Linked DNA regions of Homo sapiens: all the other regions are linked to region 1. The links are contacts of gene promoters, found by promoter capture Hi-C in human tissues and cell types (Jung and others, 2019). All regions are on one chromosome and are shown on one strand. Each heading gives the region's core, a stretch centred on a gene start or on the middle of the fragment in contact. The rest is flanking DNA. Distances are from core to core; before and after follow the strand shown.

Region 1 (3,133 bases), core at 1-2,500:
AAATCCCAGGTTGTCACTTGTACTTTCGATCAACTAGTTATAAATTCAGAGGTTCCCAGGACTCCCTCTTCAGGGTCACAGAACTCAGGAAAGTGCGTTTCTTACAGTTGCTGGTTTATTACAAAGGATAAAACTCAGACAGCCGTATGGAAGAGATGCGTAGGGCCTGGTGTGAGGTGGGGGCAGTGATGCTGTGCTCTCTGCTCGCACCACCCTCCAGTGCCTTGGTGTGTTCCACAACCCGGCGGGAAGCCCTCTGATCCCTGTGGTTTCTTACGGGGTTCCATTGTGCAGGCATGGTTGACTAAGCCACTGGTGATTCACTCAATCTCCAGCCCCTCACCCCTTTTCCATCCCAACCCGTCATCAGGCCTTGGTCTTTCTGGCCATCTGCTTCCATCCTGAAGCCACCTGGTGTCCCCGGTCATCAGTCACCTCATGAGCAAAAGGCTCTCTCATCACTCGGTTTCCAAGGGTTTCGGGTGCTATGTGCCAGCAACCAGGGACAAAGACCAGAGACAGTCACCCCTGGCCTGGCCTAAGGGGGTCTTTGTGATTGAGACATTCAGATTTCAGAGCTGGCCCAGGGGCCCCCTCTCAGGCCACGGTGCTCCTCACCCCAGGGATTCAGACCCAGCCATGTGCGTCCTGCAGGAGCAGGAGAGGTGGCTCGGGTCCCGGCCAGGACTGAGCACTGCGTCGATCAAAAGGGGAAAGGAAACCCTAGAAACGGGAAGATGCAGCCTCCAGCCCCAAGCCCAGCACAGGAGGGCGGCTCCCCGTTCATCTCTAAGCTGAACTCAGATAAAGACCGGGAGGACTAGAGGTCTGGGGCTCAAGCTCCGCTCAGGGGAAGAGGCTGGGGGCACGGCTAGGCACGTTCAAACCCGCTTCTGGGATGTTACCGCCGGCAGCGCGGGGCAGACGTCAGGTGTCTCACCCGCTCCGTGCCTCAGTTTCCCCGTCAGCTGCGGCACGCGCAGAGCCTCCCTCGCTGAACAACGGGCGGACGAGGAGAACCTAGAGGTGGCCGGGGTCCTTCGCGTCACCGAGGTCACTGTCCTACCTGCTGCCTCATCCCCGACCTCCACCCGCGGCCCCGGCGACAACCTCAGCTTTCCCAACTGAGAGGCCGCGCGGGCAGCCGACCGCCCCACCGACCCGGCCCGCGCTCAGGGAAGCCCCGCAGCCCCGGCCCGGCTCACCTCCGCGCACGCGCGCCCTGGCCGCCCGCGGAGACTCCGGGGTCGTGCCCGGGGGCGCGCAGAGGCGGGTCACGTGACCGGCGGGAGCTCGTCGCGGGGCGGGGCCGCGGTGGGTCACGTGACGCGGCCTCCCGCGCAGGCGCCCGAGGCAAGGGTGCGCGTCCGCGCTACGCCCCCCAGTGGCGGCTCCGGCAGAGCGGGCCTGGGCGCGTCCTCGCTCTCGGAGGGGGCCTGGGGAGCGCGTCTGGCTGCGCGTCCGGCGTCCCGCGGGGAGAGGCCCACGCGTGCTGCCCGCTGCCGGTTCCTCTGGGGTCAGAGACGGGGCGAGGCCCCCGCTGGCGCAGTCCCGGCCCGGTCCCCGTGGGGTCGGAGATGGGGCGTGGCCCCCGCTGCCCCGGCCTGGGTCCCCGCAGCTCGTAGGGCTTTGTAAGGGGCTGGCCCAGCCGCGCCTTGCGCCCAGGGATTCCTCCTGCCAACGCGTCCCGAGGGCATCATCGGAAAGGCGGCCAAAGGCGCTCAGCGCCAAGTTAGAAACAGCCAACATTTGGAAAGTCCTTAAGTGTGCTCCATAACTCACAGTTATTCCAGAAAGGAATAATCAAAACATTGTGATAACCCATAAAACTGACAATTGAGAAAACATTAAACTGACACAGGGGGAATTTTTTCATAAAATGAGAAAATGCTTACATTAAGAGGAGCACATTTTTACATGTGAGATACAAAAAACACACAGTATAACCTTAACTTGCCTAATAAAATGTATGTGCAGAAAAATACAAAAGGAGCCACACCAAAACACAGAGGTGTTGTTCCTGGGTAGGGGCATAGGGGCATTAAAAGCCCCCTTTCCAGCTTGCAGCGAGCCGAGACCGCGCCACTGCACTCCAGCCTGGGCGACAGAGCGAGACTCCGTCTCAAAAAAAAAAAAACAAAAGCCTCCCTTCCACCTCTGTTGTGGTTTCTGTATTTCTACAATGTTTTAAAATAAGTAAGGCTGACTCAGAAAGGCTTACTAGATATTCAGAAAAAAGATTTTATTCTTCTGCTGAAATGTTTGAAAGTGAAATTATTTTGTAGAGCATTTTCCCTTTAAACTGCAAAGAAGCCCCAAGGTCATTGGTACTTGGAAGTCCAGGGAGAAAGAGCGCTGGGTTAATGATGGAGAAAAGATAGGTGGGCAGACTGGGGCGTAGTCCCTTGGTGTGGACGCCCCAGCGTGCTCTTATTTCAGTGCTCACCCTGTTACGTGTGTCTGGGGCCACTGACTTTCTCCTGCAAGCTGTGGATCTGAATTTAACTCAAATGGGGACATGGGGGCAGGAAAAGGGACCTGAGAGTTCTAAGGGGTGGGGATGGGAAAACTGGTAAAGAAGGTGGTTTGTGGGTTTTCAGATGCACCTAGTAGAGGGAAGTGCTGGGGGGACCAGCCTCCCGGGCCAGGCTGGCTGGAGCTGCCTTAACTTTCCCACCTCTGCTCAGCCCACCAGCTTGTGGACCTGTGGCAGCGTTGTGTTGTGAGAGGCACGTGCAGATTTGGGAGTGCTGCAAACCAAAGTGTTACCTGGACGAGTAAGCCCAGTGTGGGAGTGTGGGTGTGTGGGTCTGCAGTCACAGGCTCTGTCTTTGCGATGGGATGCCATGGGAAACGCTAGGATTTTACCTGGTTTATTAAATTGCTGAGTGGCTAAAAAGATTCCTATGGGTGGGGCTGGCTTATTTCTCTTAAACGATGCCCTTCTGAGGGTACATGTGGTTTTTAGGAACACAAAAGATTCCAAGTCCCTCATGACAAACACAATTCCGGATCTCTTCCTGGAGGCCTTGCAAGGCGGAGTCCAGGCTGCTCCCTAGGAGGGCCCTGGTGACTCGAGCTTGTTGGCGATCATCTGGCTGACCTTGTGCAGGGCCTCCTGGAACTGGGGGTA
Region 2 (4,068 bases), core at 771-3,270, 240 kb before region 1:
CAAGGAAGTGCTCCATCTGCCTGCAGAGGGCTGCCAGCAGCTCAGTGACATCTCCACCTTCTTTAAGCTCCGTCACCAGGTCCAAGCCAAAGTCCATTTGGAGGGACACACCCTGCTTGGGGGAGCAGTAGGCCATGGCGATCCACGTCCTGAACAGCATATTCCCAGCAGAGTGCAGGTCGATGAAGGCCTGGCTGAGCCTCTGCACACTGCAGAAGACCTGGAGAGGCAGAACCATGAGGTTGGCTCACAGAGCCATGCGAGAGGGTAACACGCTACTCTGCAACAGCACACAGGCCTACCGCCAAAAGACGGCCCTGTCCACAGGCCCACTGCATGATCTGCGCTCACAAGGCCTCCCTCCTCATCTACACAACCCACCTGAGAAGATGGCACTCTCATCAGGGAAAGAGTCATTGTAGAGATAAATGGTATCATTTGTTTTAATTTTTTTTTTTTTTTAATTTTTTTTTGAGATGGAGTCTTGCATTGTTGCCCAGGCTGGAGTGCAGTGGTGTGATCTCGGCTCACTGCAACCTCTGCCTCCTGGGTTCAAGCAATTCTCCTGCCTCAGTCTCCGGAGCAGCTGGGATTACAGGCACGTGCCACCATGCCCGGCTAATTTTTGTAATTTTAGTAGAGATGGGGTTTCACCATATCGCCAGGCTGGTCTCAAACACCTGACCTCAAGTGATAGGCCCGCCTCGGCCTCCCAAAGTGTGAACCATGATGCCTGGACTGTTTTAATTTTTTTAAATTATCTTTTTTTTTTAATTGGGAAAAAAAAAAACCTTATACTTTTTGAGACAGGGTCTCGCTATGTTGCCCAGGCTGGTCATGAACTCCTGGGCTAAAATGAGCCTTCCACCTTGGGCTCCCAAAGTGCTGGCTTTACAGGTGTGAGCCACTGCACCCAGCAGAGATAAAGGATACCATTTGTAAAGTACAAATCAACTTTAGAGAAAGAACCTATAATAAAATTGAGAGACTATTACTTAGACCGGTACACCATTCTCAATATGATTACTTCTGTTTTGTCCATCTAAATCTTAGTTATTTGGATTCTTGCTGATTTACAGAGTGAGAGAGGCAATTCAAGTGTCTTTCTAAGGGCTATTTGCTGGGTGACCAACCTCCTTCTCAGTGCGGTGGACAGGCTGCCAGCTTCAGCGTTCATCCTACGGATCGTAAGGAGGGACTGCTAACCCAGGGGCCTGCCTGCCTTAAGACCTCTCTGGGGCCGCGGACTAGAGTTCCATGCACCCTACAAATGTGCCAACTCTACTCTCCATGGGCCTAAGAGCAGAGCCCTTCTTATCAGTCAAATCCCAAGTCAAATCCTTTCCGTTTTCTTGGGAGTACACAGCCCTCACGGACGAGATGACACCACCAGCTTAGCGCCACTGCAAAGATGCGCCCTCACCTCTGAAAACCTCTCCACTTCCGTGTTGTTACGATCCTTCTTGCCAGACATCAGCATCAACTTGTTCAAAAGCTCCTTCACCTCCTCTAAAGAGTACTCTCGTGACTCCTCGTGGCTGCCAGGGCTCTCAGGAAGGATCAAGTGCAGAACCGTGTCTGGGGAAATCTGTGAAGAGCATAGGTTAGAAGTCACTTTCTTGGGGCCAGAAGACCTGGACTGGCAGCAGCCTGCAGAAGGGCCGCAGCTGCGCCGAGGGCTGGGGACCGCTCACCTTTTGGCCACCTTTGGGCGCCTGGATCACATAGATGCCTCTTTGGTTGATGGCCGTGGCCAGGGTCAGGGATGAGCGTTCCACAGACCCATGACTCTCATTCACAGTCTTCAGCCATTCCAAGTTCCTGGCGGAGTCACACTATGGGGACAAAAGGAGAGAACACGGGCCACGGTTGGAGCGAGGATCTTGCCCTTCTCCCTCCTGTGGTCGGCCTCCCGCCTCTGCCTCGCTGCAGAGCCTTCTCCCCACGCTTCCCCAGGGCTCAGGACGCAGTCGCCCACCCAGCGCCCCAGCTGGACCAGGTGCCACCCTGACAACATGATCTGTCACTCAGTGCTGCTTTGTACTCGCTGTTCCACGTTTCCTCCAGTGCCTGGTGCCCCGGCTGGCACATGGGGGCACTTGACTTACATCTGTGGAGGAGTGGAGGGGAATGAGCAGCCGCCCGCCTGCCTCTCTACCAGACGCCATCATTCTGCCAGGTCCCCAATGCAGAGAACCCTCTGGGGGTGACGCTGGAAGCAATGGCTGTGGAGTCCCAAGTCCTCAGTGTCCTTCTGTGGTCCCCAAGTACAATAAGAGAAGTTTAGGAAAAATCACAACAGAGGGTTTTGTTTGGAAACTCTGCTGACTTTCTAGCAGAAAAATGAAGATAGCTTTACCTGCCCTTCCATATGTCACTTCTTCCTCCACCCACATGCAGAGCAGCCGTCCGGAGGCTGGCCCAGGTATCTAGTTAAGCTGCGTACGTCAATTCAGACCCTGCTACAGGTAGTTTACTTAAACTTAAATGTTTACTTTTTTCTTTTCTTTTCTTTTTTTTGAGACAGAGTCTCACTTTGTCACTCAGGCTGGAGTACAGTGGTGTGATCTCAGTTCACTGCTATCTCTGCCTCCCGGGTTCAAGCAATTCTGTCTCAGCCTCCAGAGTAGCTGGGATTACAGGCGCACACCACCATGCCTGGCTAATTTTAAATGTTTACTTTTTTCTGATAAAAAATTCTATCAATTATAGAAAATAACAAAAAGTAACAGAATAAAATGACAATTACAACCATTCAGAGAAAACTCCTGGCAACGTTTCAGCATATTTCCCTTCTGTCTTTTTTCCACGTGTGTTTTGCACCTTAGAGATTACTATGTGTCATGTAATTTTGTATCCTGCTTTCTAGGTAACAAGATGGTGAATTTCCATTTATGAAGAAAAGCTTTTTAAATATCATTGAAAACGGCTGTGTACAAACCTACCACACAGGTGTGCCACCATTTCCACAGTCACTGCCCTAACGTTGCTAAGCAATGCTCTATTCAACAAAATCTGCATTAGAGACAGAATAAGACTCACCAGTTTCCTGGGCAGGTACTGGTCCTTATCCAGAGCCTTCCACAGCTTTTTCAGATGCTTCATGAATGCACTGAAGTCCACGCTGGGGTCCAGCTTAAATAGCAGGGATGCGTAGCCCTGCACAGCGTCATGGAAGCAGGCCACCCGGTCCACATCAATGTCATTCTCCCCCGCTGAGATGGAGGCCAGGTCCACAAACACCTTCAGCTCATTGATGCCTGGGGAAGAGAAGAGGGGAGTTCAGCGTGGGACTATTCCACGATAGCACAAGACTCGGTCTTGGGCAGTAATCCTTACTGAAGCTGAAATGGATATTTCATGAATTTTTAAGGTTCTGTCCACTTTCTGCTTTCAGTAAGAGTCCGGAACACCTAATCTTTTGTAGTTTTTTTTTTTTTTTTTGAGACAGAGTCTCACTCTGTCACCCAAGCTGGAGTGAAGTGACATGATCTCGGCTCACTGCAACCTCCACCTTCCAGGTTTAAGTGATTCTCTTGCCTCAGCCTCCCGTGTAGCTGGGATTACTGGCGCCCACCACCACGCCTGGCTAATTTTTTGTATTTTTAGTAGAGACCAGGTTTCACCATGTTGGTCAGGCTGGTCTCCAACTCCTGACCTCAGGTGATCCACACGACTTGGCCTCCCAAAGTGCTGAGATTACAGGTGTGAGCCACCACGCCCAGCCTGTACTGTCTGTTAATAGCACTAAACGATATCTTGCCGTTCCTGAGCAATTTCAATGTCCCAGGCACTGTACTGCACTTCTGTGTATGCTCTTTCCTTCAATCCACACAACATTACCATTTAAACAAAAAGAAACCAAGGCTCAGCTGTAAATAACATGTTCACAATTAACTATGAAACACTCAGATCATTCCCCTCAGATAAATTACTCACTGAAGGATGTGCATCAGTGTGGACCAGAGAGTCCACCACTGAAAGCAGCGGCTCTCCCAAGAGAGCCAGAGCCTGAGATCCAGCAGGTGGTGGCCCCCAGACCCCCGAGCACACCTGCACTGCCACCTG
Region 3 (4,068 bases), core at 4-2,503, 150 kb before region 1:
GCAGCTGCTGACCAGGCCATGCTTCAAGTCGAAAGAAAGAAATGCCCTCCCCATCTGAGCTGAGCGCAGGTGAGACCTGCCGGCCGGTCCCTGGCCTCCAACCTCAGGGAGGGCAGCAGCAGGGGCTTGTCAGGGCACAGAGCTGGCCTGAGGAGTGGGGCAGGGACCACGTGAGCCCTTGAGACCTGGCCAAGGAGAAGGTGCCCTGGGGACAAAGTGCACGGGCTTAGCCCTGTGGGGGATTCCACCGCACGCATAGGTCAGGCCTGCCCCACCCTGGCTGAGCCTTGGTTTCTAGCAGCAGCGGCCATCCCATTCCACGCCGGCACATGAACACGTTTCAGGGCTGTTCTAAAGCCCCAGCGCACTGGCACGCGAAAGGCCCTGGCATGCGACGGGCATGCAAGAAAATTATCCATCCTTTCACCTGGCAACTTGCTGGGGCTAACCAGAAAATGCCAAGTAAGCTAGGTGAACCCACTCCATGCTTCTTCCACAAACAAAACAAAATGTGTTAAGTTAAAGGAACTGCTCCCGTCCGGGAGGTGAGGGGCGCCTCTGCCCGGCCGCCCCTACTGGGAAGTGAGGAGCCCCTCTGCCCGGCCACCACCCCGTCTGGGAGGTGTACCCAACAGCTCATTGAGAACGCGCCATGATGACAATGGCGGTTTTGTGGAATAGAAAGGGGGGAAAGGTGGGGAAAAGATTGAGAAATCGGATGGTTGCCGTGTCTGTGTAGAAAGAAGTAGACATGGGAGACTTTTCATTTTGTTCTGCACTAAGAAAAATTCCTCTGCCTTGGGATCCTGTTATCTGTGACCTTACCCCCAACCCCATATTGTCCTATGACCCTGCCAAATCCCCCTCTGCAAGAAACACCCAAGAATGATCAATAAAAAAAAATAAAAATAATAATAAAAAAAAAAAAAGGAACTGCCATTCTGAGCCAGGGTGCAAGGCTGTTCCGCTGGCCCTGCTGGTCACCAGGGACGTCTCCTGTCCCTCCCCCAGCTGGGCCGGGCAGAGTGGTGGCTGGAGGCGGGTGGCAAGGAGGGTAGGGATGGGGGCAGGGGGATCAGGAGGGGACCCTCCCCCGGGTCAGTGCTCGCCTCAAGACCCCAGGTGTCAGGACAAGGAGCTCCAGCTCTTCCCACTGAGCCTCGGGACCATCTCTGGGGCCATCTCCTGGCCATCCACTTCTCTGTTCCGGGACTGCCCTAACTTCCCAGTCCCAGCCCCACAGAGGGGGCTGCAGGAAAATGGGGTAGCATAAATGACACCCTCCGCGTTCAGACACCGCATCACAGCGCTCTCCCCTGTAGGACAAGGACGTACTCTTAACACGCCAGAGCGTCCTGAAGATCTTGGTGTCGAACAGCGGGGCCACGGCCATGATGATGACGGCAGCCAGGGCAGACTTGGGGATGTAGTAGAACAGTGAGGTCAGGTAGTCCAGAGACAGCAGCACCAGCACTCCTGCGGGGCACGGGAACACAGGTGACCTCGGGAGTGCAGGGTCCCCCCAGCACGCAGCGTAGCAGCCTCTTGTTCAGCAGAGCCCACTGGGGACAGGGGTGGGGGTAGGGCGACGACTGCCAAGGCCCCCAGCCCCTGCTCAGTCTCCTGTGGTCCCCCTACTCCTGTGTGGCCCCCCAAGTCCCTGTGCAGTCCCGGGGCGCACGGCCCATGAGCCAAAGGGACGTCTCTGTGGGCCCCCTCCTCCCTTTCTCCCACTCTCAGGGCTGCGGGCACAAGGGGAAGATGGGGGGCCTTACCCGTCACCAGGCCCCCCGCCGGGGTGCACACCCCCGACTGAGCGTTCACGGCTGTCCTGGAAGGCAACACAGAGACCGTCAGTCACCAGGGGCCGGGAAAAGGGAGACCTCAGTCCACACTCCTGTGGCTGATCTTCCGAGGGGACGTCAGCTCCCAGCACGGCTTGGGAAGCAGGCGGGGACTGCAAGGGGACCGAGGCAAAGAGACTTAGGGTGCAGTCACAGACAGCCGCGCTTGGGCCACCCTGACTATAGGAAGAAGCTCAGGAAGCACGTGTCCTTTCAGGTTCCTGCCGACTCTGTCTCCTGCCCCCATCCAGGTGGGGCCCCCATACCCAGCAGGGCAAGGGTCACCAGCTGGGGGACTGGGCAGTGCCAGGTGACGCCTCCTTCTCTCCTTTAAGCCACAGGTCACCTCCATCCTGTTGTCCTGACTGAGGAGGGGCCGTAGGGCATCTGGGCTAAGCTTCATGCCCGGCTGCTTCAGGACAGAGCCGAGGCCCTTCCTATCTCCACGTCCTTTCAGGAATTGACTCTGGCACCAGGAGCTAGGAGGGCTTTGGCGTGCTGGGAACTTTCTAGTATTTATTTTAGAGACAGGGTCTCGCTCTGTTGCCCAGGCTGGAGTGCAGCGGTGCGGTCACAACTCACTGCAGCCTCATCCTGCTGGGCTCAAGCGATTCTCCTGCTTCCGCCTCCAGAGTAAATGGGATAACAAGGGTGTACCACAATGCCCAGTGGAACTTTCTAGTATGAAACTGCAGGACGATCTATGAGAATAAAGAAACAGAGAACACCCTGGAGGACAGTGGGTGACCCCCAGCCCTGCCTCTCCACGGAGCGTTCACAGTGGAGGACGGGGCGCCGGGGTCAGGGCAGGCAGACTCCTTGTCAGCGTAACAACGTTAGGGCGTCCAACGTGGGCAAACAGAAGAGGCGGACAGGTCACTCACCGTCCAAAGCTGCCTGTGACCGGGTAGGAGGAGACGAGGGAGCCCAACATGTTGGTGAGACCTGGGGAGGAGGCAAGACAGGCTGATCGTGGAGGGAAGGCACACAGGATGGAGGGAAAGGAGATGGGGAGGGGGACAAAAACCCAGAAGGGAGGCAGGAAGGCAGGGCTCGGGAGAATCATCCTGGGGGCCTGGGCCTACGCACTCCTTCAGGGAAGGAAGAAAACAGGCCACATTCTTGCAGACGTAAAGCCTAGCCTTTTTTTTTTTTTTTTTTTTTTTGAGACAGAGTCTGGCTTTGTTGCCCAGGCTGGAATGCAGTGGCGCGATCTCAGCTCACTGCAGCCTCCGCCTCCCAGTTCAAGCGATTCTCCTGCCTCAGCCTCCTGAGTAGCTGGGATTACAGGCACACACTACCACGCCTGGCTAATTTCTGTATTTTTAGTACAGACAGAGTTTTGCCATGTTGGCCAGGCTGGTCTCAAACTCCTGACCTCAGTGATCCACCCGCTTCGACCTCCCAAAGTGCTGGGACTACAGGCATGTGCCACCACACCCAGTTAATTTTTCTATTTTTAGTAGAGACAGGGTTTTGCCATGCTGGCCAGGCTGGTCTCAAATGCCTGACCTCAGGTGACCCATCCGCCTCAGCCTCCCAAAGTGCTGGGATCACAGGAGTGAGCCACCATGCCTGGCAAGATCCTAGCTTTCAAACACTTCTCACCCAGCCTCTCCTGTGTGACCAGGACACGCCTTCCCCACGCAGAACAGAGGGGAGCATCTCACCACCCAGGAGGGGGTGAGAGCTGAGATAAAGTGCCCGTAAGACAAACCCTAGGTACTCGGGAGGTCAGTGGCTGCCCACCGTTCTCCACCCAGTTCCTTTCCGTCTCACGAGATGACAGCCACAGTGAGGCCAAGGTCATGGCCAGTATGCTGCCTCCCCAGGTGATGCCGGCTGCCTACAACAGACAAAGCCCACGCCCACAGCATTGCTGGGGCCCAAGAACGGGGATCACTGCTCAGGTTGACCCACGCTCCCACCAGCATCTGTCTCACCTGGGGCATCACTAAGACCAGAATCCCTCCTGCTCGCTAAGACCCACAGTGGGGTCTCAGGTCTCACAGGTGCAGGGCCTGCTCTCAAGGCGGCTCGGCCTGGGGCCAACTCAGTATCAGGGCATCCCGGGTGACATGGCCCAGCTCACGGCCCTGAGAGAGATGGGCTAGGGCAAGGAAATACAGGCGTGGGAGGGCTCGGTAGAGGCCCAAGGTGACCACAGGCTGCAGGGGATCATCCTCATTCTACAGCAGCTTGGGCTGGGGACCCAACTCTGTGA

Evidence for each region. The method cuts DNA at HindIII sites, captures the fragments that hold promoters and counts their contacts. A contact is called where the count stands out against the background at its distance.
Region 2: a contact is called between a fragment that was not itself captured here and the fragment with the promoter of GAA in region 1, in 2 of the 25 tissues and cell types used here (IMR-90 fibroblasts and lymphoblastoid cells).
Region 3: a contact is called between a fragment that was not itself captured here and the fragment with the promoter of GAA in region 1, in 1 of the 25 tissues and cell types used here (spleen).

What each region holds. Positions count from the first base shown.
Region 1 is chr17:80,099,698-80,102,830 of GRCh38, reverse strand. It overlaps GAA (alpha glucosidase), which reads right to left and starts at 1,250. Exons shown (of 20, transcript NM_000152.5): 1 at 941-1,250. CCDC40 (coiled-coil domain 40 molecular ruler complex subunit) reads right to left here. Exons shown (of 20, transcript NM_017950.4): 20 at 2,218-3,133. The coding sequence ends at 3,056. RefSeq lists an enhancer at 644-753 and a silencer at 1,084-1,703. The HindIII fragment of the contact is 18,678 bases long and covers 1-3,133 here.
Region 2 is chr17:80,335,353-80,339,420 of GRCh38, reverse strand. RNF213 (ring finger protein 213) reads right to left here. Exons shown (of 68, transcript NM_001256071.3): 23 at 3,043-3,260; 24 at 1,695-1,835; 25 at 1,424-1,588; 26 at 1-220. Among named protein-coding and RNA genes, the nearest start is that of RNF213, 77 kb to the right of the region's middle. The HindIII fragment of the contact is 5,157 bases long and covers 1-4,068 here.
Region 3 is chr17:80,243,917-80,247,984 of GRCh38, reverse strand. SLC26A11 (solute carrier family 26 member 11) reads right to left here. Exons shown (of 18, transcript NM_001166347.2): 11 at 2,729-2,789; 12 at 1,776-1,831; 13 at 1,336-1,476. Among named protein-coding and RNA genes, the nearest start is that of RNF213, 15 kb to the left of the region's middle. The HindIII fragment of the contact is 7,646 bases long and covers 1-4,068 here.